Linked DNA regions of Homo sapiens: region 2 is linked to region 1. Evidence: promoter capture Hi-C in 16 types of primary human blood cells and fetal thymus (Javierre and others, 2016). All regions are on one chromosome and are shown on one strand. Each heading gives the region's core, a stretch centred on a gene start or on the middle of the fragment in contact. The rest is flanking DNA. Distances are from core to core; before and after follow the strand shown.

Region 1 (6,765 bases), core at 4,136-6,635:
GCTAGCAGAAGGCAAGAAATAACTAAAATCAGAGCAGAACTGAAGGAAATAGAGACACAAAAAACCCTTCAAAAAATCAATGAATCCAGGAGCTGGTTTTTTGAAAGGATCAACAAAATTGAGAGACCGCTAGCAAGACTAATAAAGAAAAAAAGAGAGAAGAATCAAATAGACACAATAAAAAATGATAAAGGGGATATCACCACCAATCCCACAGAAATACAAACTACCATCAGAGAATACTACAAACACCTCTACGCAAATAAACTAGAAAATCTAGAAGAAATGGATAAATTCCTCGACACATACACTCTCCCAAGACTAAACCAGGAAGAAGTTGAATCTCTGAGTAGACCAATAACAGGAGCTGAAATTGTGGCAATAATCAATAGTTTACCAACCAAAAAGAGTCCAGGACCAGATGGATTCACAGCTGAATTCTACCAGAGGTACAAGGAGGAACTGGTACCATTCCTTCTGAAACTATTCCAATCAATAGAAAAAGAGGGAATCCTTCCTAACTCATTTTATGAGGCCAGCATCATTCTGATACCAAAGCCGGGCAGAGACACAACCAAAAAAGAGAATTTTAGACCAATATCCTTGATGAACATTGATGCAAAAATCCTCAATAAAATACGGCAAAATGAATCCAGCAGCACATCAAAAAGCTTATCCACCATGATCAAGTGGGCTTCATCCCTGGGATGCAAGGCTGGTTCAATATATGCAAATCAATAAATGTAATCCAGCATATAAACAGAGCCAAAGACAAAAACCACATGATTATCTCAATAGATGCAGAAAAAGCCTTTGACAAAATTCAACAACCCTTCATGAGAAAAACTCTCAATAAATTAGATATTGATGGGACATATTTCAAAATAATAACAGCTATCTATGACAAACCCACGGCCAATATCATACTGAATGGGCAAAAACTGGAAGCATTCCCTTTGAAAACTGGCACAAGACAGGGATGCCCTCTCTCACCACTCCTATTCAACATAGTGTTGGAAGATCTGGCCAGGGCAATTAGGCAGGAGAAGGAAATAAAGGGTATTCGATTAGGAAAAGAGGAAGTCAAATTGTCCCTGTTTGCAGATGACATGATTGTATATCTAGAAAACCCCATTGTCTCAGCCCAAAATCTCCTTAAGCTGATAAGCAACTTCAGCAAAGTCTCAGGATACAAAATCAATGTACAAAAATCACAAGCATTCTTATACACCAACAACAAACAAACAGAGAGCCAAATCATGAGTGAACTCCCATTCACAATTGCTTCAAAGAGAATAAAATATCTAGGAATCCAACTTACAAGGGATGTGAAGGACCTCTTCAAGGAGAACTACAAACCACTGCTCAAGGAAATAAAAGAGGATACAAACAAATGGAAGAACATTCCATGCTCATGGGTAGGAAGAATCAATATCCTGAAAATGGCCATACTGCCCAAGGTAATTTACAGATTCAATGCCATCCCCATAAAGCTACCAATGACTTTCTTCACAGAATTGGAAAAAACTACTTTAAAGTTCATATGGAACCAAAAAAGAGCCCACATCACCAAGTCAATCCTAAGCCAAAAGAACAAAGCTGGAGGCATCACACTACCTGACTTCAAACTATACTACAAGGCTACAGTAACCAAAACAGCATGGTACTGGTACCAAAACAGAGATATAGATCAATGGAACAGAACAGAGCCCTCAGAAATAACGCCGCATATCTACAACTATCTGATCTTTGACAAACCTGAGAAAAACAAGCAATGGGGAAAGGATTCCCTATTTAATAAATGGTGCTGGGAAAACTGGCTAGCCATATGGAGAAAGCTGAAACCGGATCCCTTCCTTACACCTTATACAAAAATCAATTCAAGATGGATTAAAGATTTAAACGTTAGACCTAAAACCATAAAAACCCTGGAAGAAAACCTAGGCATTACCATTCAGGACATAGGCATGGGCAAGGACTTCATGTCCAAAACACCAAAAGCAATGGTAACAAAAGCCAAAATTGACAAATGGGATCTAATTAAACTAAAGAGCTTCTGCACAGCAAAAGAAACTACCATCAGAGTGAACAGGCAACCTACAAAATGGGAGAAAATTTTCGCAACCTACTCATCTGACAAAGGGCTAATATCCAGAATCTACAATGAACTCCAACAAATTTACAAGAACAAAACAAACAACCCCATCAAAAAGTGGGCGAAGGACATGAACAGACACTTCTCAAAGAAGACATTTATGCAGCCAAAAAACACACGAAAAAATGCTCATCACTGGCCATCAGAGAAATGCAAATCAAAACCACAATGAGATACCATCTCACACCAGTTAGAATGGCAGTCATTAAAAAGTCAGGAAACAACAGGTGCTGGAGAGGATGTGGAGAAATAGGAACACTTTTACACTGTTGGTGGGACTGTAAACTAGTTCAACCATTGTGGAAGTCAGTGTGGCGATTCCTCAGGGATCTAGAATTAGAAATACCATTTGAGCCAGCCATCCCATTACTGGGTATATACCCAAAGGACTATAAATCATGCTGCTATAAAGACACATGCACACGTATGTTTATTGTGGCATTATTCACAATAGCAAAGACTTGGAACCAACCCAAATGTCCAACAATGATAGACTGGATTAAGAAAATGTGGCACATATACACCATGGAATACTATGCAGCCATAAAAAATGATGAGTTCATGTCCTTTGTAGGGACATGGATGAAATTGGAAATCATCATTCTCAGTAAACTATCGCAAGAACAAAAAACCAAACACCGCATATTCTCACTCATAGGTGGGAATTGAACAGTGAGATCACATGGACACAGGAAGGGGAATATCACACTCTGGGGACTGCAGTGGGGTCGGGGGAGGGGGGAGGGATAGCATTGGGAGATATACGTAATGCTAGATGACGAGTTAGTGGGTGCAGCGCACCAGCATGGCACATGTATACATATGTAACTAACCTGCACAATGTGCACATGTACCCTAAAACTTAAAGTATAATAAAAAATAAAATAAAATAAAAAATAATAAATAAATAAATAAATATGCAAAGCAGTATTGAGTCAATATGAATATGATGATATTGTTAAATATTTAATATTTATGCAAGACTGGATTCAGGGAAAGCAAAATATCAAAAATGAAAGATAGTCTTAAGACCCAAACAAAGCTGAATCCAATACCAAGAGAACTACTGGATGGTAAATTGAAATAGTGAAAAAGAAGAAAACAGGACAGAGGTTCTAAGTGTGAGTTACAGAGTCATCTTCTGATTATAATGTTCTCTCAAAAGGGTATTAGCTTCCTAGCAAGCTTTATCTACCCTGAGCCTAGATTAAGATGCATGCCCTGTGATGGTGTTCCTCTACCATGGAGATTTTGCTCAGTATATTGGGTGTATACTAGCAGAAGACAGTGCTTACTTGATTAGACAAAAAAGGGAAAAACACTGATTGTTTAAAGCTCTTGTAGTAGATGCATTAGGGCTTTTTGAGGGAAATATTCTAAAACCATAAGAAAATGCCTTATTTTATATCTCTCTTGCATTTAATAAAGGTAAGAAAATTTGAAGCTCTTAAGACATTACTTACAAATTAGAAACCTGTGAATATCTAACAATATGATTGAGAATACACAACAGCAACTTCTACCTAGCTATTGAACTTAGCCCAGAATAACAGAGTCCCTAGTCTTCAGTCTTATTATTTCACTGAAAGAAATATTGAGGAAACATTGAGGGATCAATATACTAAAAGAAATAAACAATAAGATGGGGAAAATTAGCCAGTTGCACTTTGGCAAAGTTTAATCTCCATTAGCCCTAATATTACACCTGAATCAAGGAGTAAGTAATTGTATAGAGAATGGCACACATTTAGTTTTTGCTCTTGATAGCCCTGTTTACACCAGTTGTATCAACGTAATTATTAACTGCCCCCGCTGTGCTTCTCAAGTATCTTGGTTTAGATAATAAACTATGTAGTAACCCCAGCTTTGTTTCAATTACCAATAGACAGAATATTATCTTCATGAAATTAAAACATTCAGGTAAAGTGTTCACCACAAACACAGCGCAGTGATTAAAGAACTGGGACTCTGGGGTTTCTCTAGCCACTTACTATCCTGAAACAATGGCCACATACTTTACCTCTTTGTCGATCAGCTTTTTCATTTTTTAAGTGGAGATAATATACCTCCCTACTTCACAGGTTGTCCTAAGGATTATATTAATTATATATGTAATATACTTAAAAGAGAAGCATAGCAAGAGATTTGCCTGAAGCATAGCAAGAGATTTGTGTTTGTCATATTATGATTATACTGGGTTAAGTCACAGGAAGTTAACTGATTAAGCACTTTTAAAAATCTGGTGAGGTGAAAAATAAGAGAGTAACAGATTGAGAAACGAATGCGTACTGTGGAAATAGAGTCAAAGAATGTAGATCTGAAGGAAATGAAAAAGGAGAGAATATTGTGTCATGGCGAGGATATTCAGCAATTTTTGTCTTGACTTTTATCCATGTTGTATAACTTGTTCTAATCTGAGTAGCTAACTGAACGCAGGAAGACATAGTTTTTATATTTTTCAGCAGTTCATTTATTATAATCAAAACTGTCTTGCACTGTGATAAAAGGGCACTGAAAAATAATCATATTATACTACACAGCACTATCCAGGGAGTAGATATAAGATTTAGATAATGAAGCTTAGAAGAGATATGTAAAATTATAAACGTGGATGCCTTAGGGTCAAAAGATGGTTTTCTCTTAAAATGAATAACCAACAATTAAAAAGCAGTCAAAAAGCAAATAAATATACATCTTAGAGGGAATTGAAATGTTTTGTTTGGAACCTGATGTATGTTTTATTTTAGGGTTTTACAATTCCCAAATTTTAAAACAGAGATGAAACTAAAGCGAATTATTTTAATGTAGCTTATGAGTTGCAGAAAAACATTTGGCAGCATAAAAAACAGTCATATTTCAAAAAATAATGCAATCCAATAAAAAGGCACAACTCAGAATGAGTTAAAATGTTTAATACACTATAAATTAATTACTATAGAAGATTAATAAAGAAAAGTTATTCTATAGTTCGTTGACTAAAATTTATAAAATAATCTTATTTGGCCATTTTGTATAAATAGATCAAGGGAGCTCAACGTACTAAAACATGTACATATATGTTATTTATATTCTCACTATAAACTTCTGCAGATCAACAAGTAAAACCTATGATGTTGGATAAATGAAACATGCATGAGAGTGTTCATCATTAGCTGCTTTTTTTATTGAATGCTGCAGTTCAAATTTCTCTGACATTTACATGTAGTTTTGGAAAAATGCAGAAGTCAGTAATGAGAAAACACACAGCAATAACAACATTCATCCTTCTGGGACTGACAGAAGATCCTCAGCTGCAGGTTCTGCTTTTCATGTTTCTATTTATCACCTACATGTTGAGTGTAACAGGGAAACTGACCATTATCGCCCTCACCATGTTGGATCCCCACCTGAAAACACCCATGTATTTTTTTCTCCAAAATTTATCTTTCTTAGAAATCTCATTTACAGCTACCTGTGTTCCAAGATTCTTATACAGTATCTCAACTGGGAACAAAATAATAACGTATAATGCATGTGTCATTCAGCTATTTTTTGCAGACCTCTTTGGGGTAACTGAATTTTTTCTTTTGGCTACCATGTCATATGATCGCTATGTGGCCATCTGCAAACCCTTGCATTATATGGCAATCATGAGCAACAAAGTGTGCAAAACAATGGTTATTTGTTGTTGGATGGCAGCACTTATGATTATCCTCCCACCACTTAGCTTAGGTTTTCATCTAGAATTCTGTGACTCTAATGTCATCAATCATTTTGGCTGTGATGCATTGCCTATTCTGAAAATACCATGCTCAGACACATCATTAATTGAGCAGATGGTTGTAGCCTCTGCTGTATTAACCTTTATTATCACTCTTGTATGTGTAGTTCTGTCCTACACATATATCATAAGAACAATTCTAAAATTCCCTTCTGTTCAACAAAAGAAAAAAGCCTTTTCTACCTGTTCTTCACATATTACTGTGGTTTCCATCACTTATGGCAGCTGCATCTTCATCTATATCAAGCCATCTGCAAAAGAAGAGGTAAACATTAATAAAGGTGTGTCAGTGCTTATTTCATCCATATCACCTATGTTGAATTCTTTCATATATACTCTTAGGAATGAGCAAGTTAAACAAGCCTTTCATGACTCACTCAAAAAAATTGCATTTCGTTTAAAAAAGTAAAGTGTACCTAAGTTGATAAATCAATATAAAAGATCTGCTTCATATTTTTCATAAAGCCAATAACCAACTTTGTAATTTCTTAGTCTATAGAGCAATCAAGTTGACTGCATAGCCATTTAATCATTAATTTTTTATTAATTTACGTACTGAGAAATTAATTATTGAATAATATTCTATGATAGACAAAATATATCACTTTTAATCCTTAACCAGATTAAACCACTCTTTTTTCCTTCTTTCCAGTTGATTTTCTCTGATAATTTTAAAATATGGGTGTGAAGTTATTTTTTTCCCAACTTCTATGAGTAGTCATTCTTTTTTTTTTTTTTTTTTTCTCCCCTGGAGATAGATTCCCACTCTGTTGTCCAGGCTGGAGTGCGATGGTGCCATCTTGGCTCACTGCAACCTCCAACTTCCAGGTTCAAGCAATTCTCATGATTC
Region 2 (6,747 bases), core at 2,846-5,345, 660 kb before region 1:
GAATATCTAGATTATTTCCAAATAAGATAAAATACTGAAACAATTACTGAGCATAAGTTTAAGTTTATATATTTTTGGCATCTTGCTTTTATACAGTATAAAGAGACTAAATATATTTGAGTCTGTTAATTTTTGTCACATTGAAAAATTATACTATGAGGAAGCATATGCCTCTAAAATTGTGAAATGGTATATTCATCACTTTTGCAAGCTTGCTACAGAATGCTGCCATGTAACAAAGACATTTCACAATTATCTACCTCCTAATTTTCTCTATAAAAGAAACCTTACTAATGGTTAAACATTACAATTAATATGTGAAAATAATTAGGAAAACAATTCTTCATCAAAAGTTTTCAGGGAAAATAGGATATATCTTTGATAGGAAATATACGAGTATGAAGGATGTGTTTTTGTTAAGGGAAAAAGAGAGTAATTTTATCCTAAAGTTAGATGACTAGTTGTTCCAGAATGAGGAATAAGAAAAATATAGAGCAAAAACTAAAGGATATAGGAAGTTGCAGAAGGCTTGTGGAAAATGAAATTTATGTGTAGTCAAGCTGGCTAAGATTTGAATTCCTTTGTTTACACATTTAAAAATATGAGCCTTAACATCAAAAGTACACTAATGCAAAGCTAGAATATGGCTTTCTTTCTGTTAAAAAGACAAATTTTGGGTGGGGGGATTATTGGTTTGCTCTTAATAAGAGATTGTGAAAGGCTTTTCTTTAACTTTTGCATAATCTGCCTGGGAAACCAATGTTTTGTGTCTTTTCTGAATAATTTCCTCTGTTTTATGTTGTCTTTATCATGTCTTTGATTACTTAAGAGTCTTCACAATATTAAAAGAGCTAAGGGTTTTGTTTACAACTATGTAAGCTTCTGTATTTGCCTTTAAAATCTTTTATTGTCACTTTGGTTAAACGGATAACTGTTGTTTCATGGTGGCCTGTGATCCTACTTACTCGTCTATTTAAACCTTTTGACATTTTTGACAATCTCTAACAATCGGATGCTTTATGAGGTCTTTTTGACCTAAAACTGACTGAGACATCACAGACGGCCCCTGGAAAATACCCAAGAGAATTTTTCTTTCATTTTGCAAAGGAATCTGGTAAAAATAATTTATATTATTTGATATGTTAAGCTGAATGGAAATGTGTCAAATAAGAAGTGATGCTTAACCTTCCCTAGGTTACATTTGTATAGGTAAAATGCTATTTTCAAGAAATCATATAAAATTTCTAGAAATTTTGTATGTCCTGGTATAAAGTGATCAGCTATAATTTGAGTTATTATTTTAAACTTTGTATGTCACAAAATAACCAAGCTTCCTTATTAAATGAATTATCATCAGATCTTTAACCTGGATTTATATTATGTTTTTCTTTTTAAATTCCTGTACCAGTACAGCACTATTCGTTACTGTAACTTTATATTAATTTTTGATATCTAGAAGAGTAAGAGTTGCTCATTTGACTTTCCTTAGAGCTGTCCTGTCCATTCTAGGTCCTTTTTCCTTGGCTTTTTATGTATGTTTTAATAAAGCATATTCTGTTGTGCATGCATTCATATTTACCTACACACACACATCCAACCTTTTGAAATTTTGTTGAGTTTTGCATCGAATATATAGAATTATATGAGGAGAACTGGAATTTTCTAATCTATGCAAATGTTTTATTTCTCAGTTTATTTTTCCTTTTATTTAGTTTCAATAATATTTTCTAGTTTTTTGTATAGATGAGATCCACATATCTTTACAGTTATATACACCTTTCCAATACTTGGTATTTTCAGTTCATAAAATTTCAACCCATCTGATGATGCCTAGTGCTATCTAATTGTTTTAATTTTTTTCCTTATGTCAAACAAATTAGAGCACATTTTCATAAATTTATTGGTCATAAAGATATCCCCTTTTCTGAAGTCTTATTCAAAACTTTTCCCCAATGGTTATATTGGATTATCTTTTTCTAAGGAATTTATACACCATGGAATACTATGCAGCCATAAAAAATGATGAGTTCATGTCCTTTATAGGGACATGGATGAAGCTGGAAACCATCATTCTCAGCAAACTATTGCAAGGACAAAAAACCAAACACCGCATGTTCTCACTCATAGAGGGGAATTGAACAATGAGAACACATGAACACAGGAAGGGGAACATCACACTCTGGGGACTGTTGTGGGGTTGGGGGAGGGGGGAGGGATAGCATTAGGAAATATACCTAATGCTAAATGATGAGTTAATGGGTGCAGCACACCAACATGGCACATGTATACATATGTAACAAACCCGCACATTGTGCACATGTACCCTAAAACTTAAAGTATAATAAAAAAAAGTCTACTTAACAGTCGTTTGTTAATTACATGCATTATAACTATACCCTCTGAATGCGTGGCTTGAATAGTGATTTGGATGTAAGAGCTTTTATATTCATTGTAGTTTAATTCATTAACCTATCTCTTCAGGGTTAGTGCTTTGATTTTGTTCTATATAAGACATATTTGCGTGAACTTCATGAACTTATTTTTCTATATTCTCTTTTAGAAGGTTTACTGTTACACTTATTATTTAGATATATTCTCTACATAATAAACTATTTGGAATTTATTTTAGTGTATTGAGTGAAGTTGAGTATTTTTTGCCTTTTATATGAATCTTGAATTTACCTATCAGCATTTTTAAACTACCTTTTCTTCACTTTATTTTAAAATTCAATCAGTCACTGTATATTTGTGAATTACCTTCTGGTCTCTCTCTTCTTTTCATCGTCTAATTGTAAATCCTCATCACAAGCCATACTCTTTCACTGGTGCAATTTTATTGTATTTTATTTTTAAAATTTATCTTTAAAGTTTTGTATATTTAAGGTAAACAATGTAATGTTTTGATATACACAGTGAAGTTGTTACCACAATCCAACTAATTAGCATAACATTCTCTTTACATAGTTACTATTTTTTGTGGTGAGAATACTTAAAATCCACTCTCTTAGCAAATTTTAAGTATAGAATACAGTATCATTAATCATAATGAACTAACTGTGTATCTCTAGAATTTATTCATCCTACATGATTGAAATTTTATATACTAAAAATAAATATATATATTTTTTATTTCAATAATTTTGGGGGTAAAAGTGGTTTTTGGTTATATGGATGAATTGTAGAGTGGAGAAGTCTGAGATTTTAGTGCACCTGTCACCCGAGCAGTGTACATTGTATCCAATATGTAGGTTTTTATTCCTCACCTTCCTTCCACTCTCCTCCATTCTGAGTTTCCAATATCCATTATGCCACTCTGTATGCCTTTGCATACAGATAGTTTAGCTTCCAGTTATAAGTGAGAACATACGGTATTTTGTTTTCCATTCCTGAGTTACTTCACTTAGAATAATGGCTTCCAGCTCCATCCAAGTTGCTAGTTGCTGCAAAAAACACTATTTCATTCTCTTTTATGGCTGAGTAGTATTCCATGGTGTACATATACCACCTTTTCTTTATTCACTCATTCGTTGATGGGCACTTATATTGGCTCCATATTTTTGCAATGTTGAATTCTGCTATGATAAACATATACACGTATGTGTCTTTTTGATATAATGACTTATTTTCCTTTAGGTAGATAGCCAGTAGTGGGATTGCTGGATCAAACAGTAGATCTACTTTTTGTTCTTTGAGAACTCTCCATACTGTTTTCCATAGAGGTTGTACTAATTTACATTCCCATCAGCAGTGTGTAAGCATCCCCTTTTCACCACCTCTACACCAACATCTACTGTTTTTTTGACTTTTTAATAATGGCCATTTTGGCTGGGTTAAGATGGTGTCTCATTGTAGTTTTAATTTGCATTTCCCTGATGATTAGCAATGTTGAGTATTTTTTTCATATATTTATTGGCCATTTGTATATCTTCTTTTGAGAAGTGTCTATTCGTGTCACGTGTCCACTTTTTGATGGGATTGTTTTTTTTTTTTTTCTGGCTGATTTGTTTGAGCTCCTTGTCTTGTTCCAGGTCTTCGTGGGAATGCTTTCAACTTTTCCCCGTTCAGTATGATGCTGACTGTGGATTTGTCATATATGGCTTTTATTATTTTGAAGTATGTTCTTTCTATGTCTAGTTTGTTGAGGGTTTCTACCATAAAGGGGCAATGGATTTGATTGAATGCTTTTTCTGTGTCCGTTGAGATGATCATGTGATTTTTGTTTTAAATTCTGCCTATTTATAAATTCTGCCACATTTATTAATTTGCATATGTGGAACCATCCCTGCATCCCTGGGATGAAACCCGCTTGATCATGATGAATTATCTTTTTGACGAGCTGTTGGATTTGGGTTGCTATTATTTTGTTGAGGACTTTTGCATCTGTGTTCATCAGGAATATTGGTCTGTAGTTTTCTTTTTTTGTTGTTATGTCCTCTTCATGCTTTGGTATCAGGGCATACTGGTTTCACAGAATGAGTTAGGGAGGATTGCCTCTTTCTCAACCTTTTGGAATAGTTTCAGTAAGATTGCTGTCAATTTTTCTTTGAAGGTCTGGTAGACTTTGGCTGTGAATCTACCTGGCTGTGGGCTTTTTTGTAGTTGTTGCTGGCAACTTTTAAATTACTAATTCAGTCTAATTGCTTGTTTGTTATTGGTTTGTTCAGGATTTCTATTTCTTCCTGATTCAAATTAGGAGGGTTGTATGTTTCTAGAAATTTATTCATTTCCTCTAGATTTTCTAGTTGTGTACATAGAGGTGTTATAGTAATCTTGAATTATCTTTTGTATTTCTGTGTTATTGGTTGTAATGTCTCAATTTTCATGTCTGAGCTTATTTGAATCTTCTCTCTTTTCTTGGTTAATCTAGCTAATGGTTTTCCAATTGTGTTTATCTTGTCAAAGAAACAACTTTTTGTTTCATTGATCTTTTTTGTATTTGTTTCAATTTCATTCAGTTCTGTTCTGATCTTTATTATTTCTTTTCTTCTGCTAGTTTTGGGTTTGGTTTGTCTTTGTTTCTTTAGTTTCTTGCAGTGTGATGTTAGGTTGTCAACTTGTGATCTTTTGAACTTTTTAATGTAGGCATTTAGAATTGTAAACTTTCCTCTTAGCACTGCTTTTGCTATATGCCAGAGGTTTTGATAACTTGTGCAACTATTATCATTCATTTTGAAGAATTTTTGAATTTTCATCTTGATTTCATTGTTAACCTCAAAATCATTCAGGAGCAAATTATTTAATTTCCATGTATTTGTATAGTTTTGAGGGTTCTTTTTGGAGTTTATTTTTAGTTTAATTCCACTGTGGTCTGAGAAAACACTTGATATAATTTCAATTTTTTAAAATATATTGACTTGTTTTATCTCTTATTATATGGTCTATCTTGGAGAATATTTCATGCACTGAGGAGAAGAATGTATATTCTGCAGTTCTTGAGTAGAATGTTCTGTAAATATTTGTCAGGTCAATTTTTTCTAGAGTGCAGTTTAAGTCCAGTGTTTCTTTGTTGACTTTCTGCCTCAATGGTCTATCTAGTGCTGTCAGTAGAGAGTTGAAGTCCCCAACTACTATTGTGCTGCTGTCTATTTCTTTTATTAGGTTTAGTAGTAATTGTTTTATGAATCTAGGAGCTCCAGAGTTAGGTGCAATATATTGAGGATTGTAATGTTTTCTTGTTGGATTGATCCTTTTCCCATTATATAATGACTTTTTTTGGGTTTTTATGTTTTTACTGTTGTTGCTTTAAAACCTGTTTTATCTGATATAAGAATAGCTACTCCTGCTTGCTTTTGGTTTCCATTTGTGTGGAATATCGTTTTCCACCCCTTTACCTCAAGTCTATAAGAATCCTTATGGGCTGGGTGTGGTGGCTCATGCCTGTAATCCCAGTACTTTGGGAGGCCAAGGCAGGCAGACCACAAGGTCAGGAGATTGAGACCATCCTGACTAACATGGAGAAAACCTGTCTCTACTAAAAAAAAATACAAAAAATTAGCCGGGCGTGGTGGTGGGTGCCCGTAGTCCCAGCTACTCGGGAGGCTGAGGCAGGAGAATGGCGTGAACCCAGGAGGCGGAGCTTGCAGTGAGCTGAGATCATGCCACTGCACTCCAGCCTGGGTGACAGAGTGAGACTCCGTCTCCAAAAAAACAAAAACAAAAACAAAAAAAATCAATGCTTATATTTTAGGTGAATCTCTTGAAAACAGAAGATATTTGGTTTGTGATTTTTTAATACGTTCTGCCAATTTGTATCTTTTAAGTGGAGCATTTAGACCATTTACATTCAGTTACATTCATATACATATTTAACATTGAGACATGAAGTAGTAGTTTCAGTCATCATATTGATTGTTACCTTGATACTTTGCTATCTTCATTGCATTATTGTTTTATAGGCTCTGTGAGTTTTATGCTTCAAGTGGTTCTATTCTGGTGCATATCCATCTTTTGTTTCAGGATTGGGAACTCCTTTTAGCATTTCTTGTAGGACTGGTCTGGTAGTGACAAACTCCCTCAGCATTTGCTTGTCTGAAAAAGACTATTTCTCTCCATTTATAAAACTTAGTTTTGCTTGATACAGAATTCTTTGCTAACAGTTATATCATTTAAGGAGGCTAGAGATAGGACCCTAATCCTTTCTGGTTTGTAAGGATTCTGCTGAGAAGTCTGCTGTTAGTTTGATATGTTTTCCTTTATGGGTTATCTGATGCTTTTGTCTCACTGCTCTTAGAATATCTTCCTTCACAT

The links. Contacts are between HindIII fragments. The CHiCAGO score rates a contact against its expected background, and 5 or more counts as called.
Region 2: a fragment that was not itself captured here is called in contact with the fragment with the promoter of OR6C68 in region 1 in 1 of 17 cell types (M2 macrophages); the score reaches 5.6 in M2 macrophages.

What each region holds. Positions count from the first base shown.
Region 1 is chr12:55,486,993-55,493,757 of GRCh38, forward strand. OR6C68 (olfactory receptor family 6 subfamily C member 68) reads left to right here and starts at 5,386. Exons shown (of 1, transcript NM_001005519.2): 1 at 5,386-6,324. The coding sequence starts at 5,386. The coding sequence ends at 6,324. The HindIII fragment of the contact is 4,433 bases long and covers 4,733-6,765 here.
Region 2 is chr12:54,831,629-54,838,375 of GRCh38, forward strand. It overlaps a transcript of MUCL1 not described here. Among named protein-coding and RNA genes, the nearest start is that of MUCL1, 20 kb to the right of the region's middle. The HindIII fragment of the contact is 5,535 bases long and covers 1,329-6,747 here.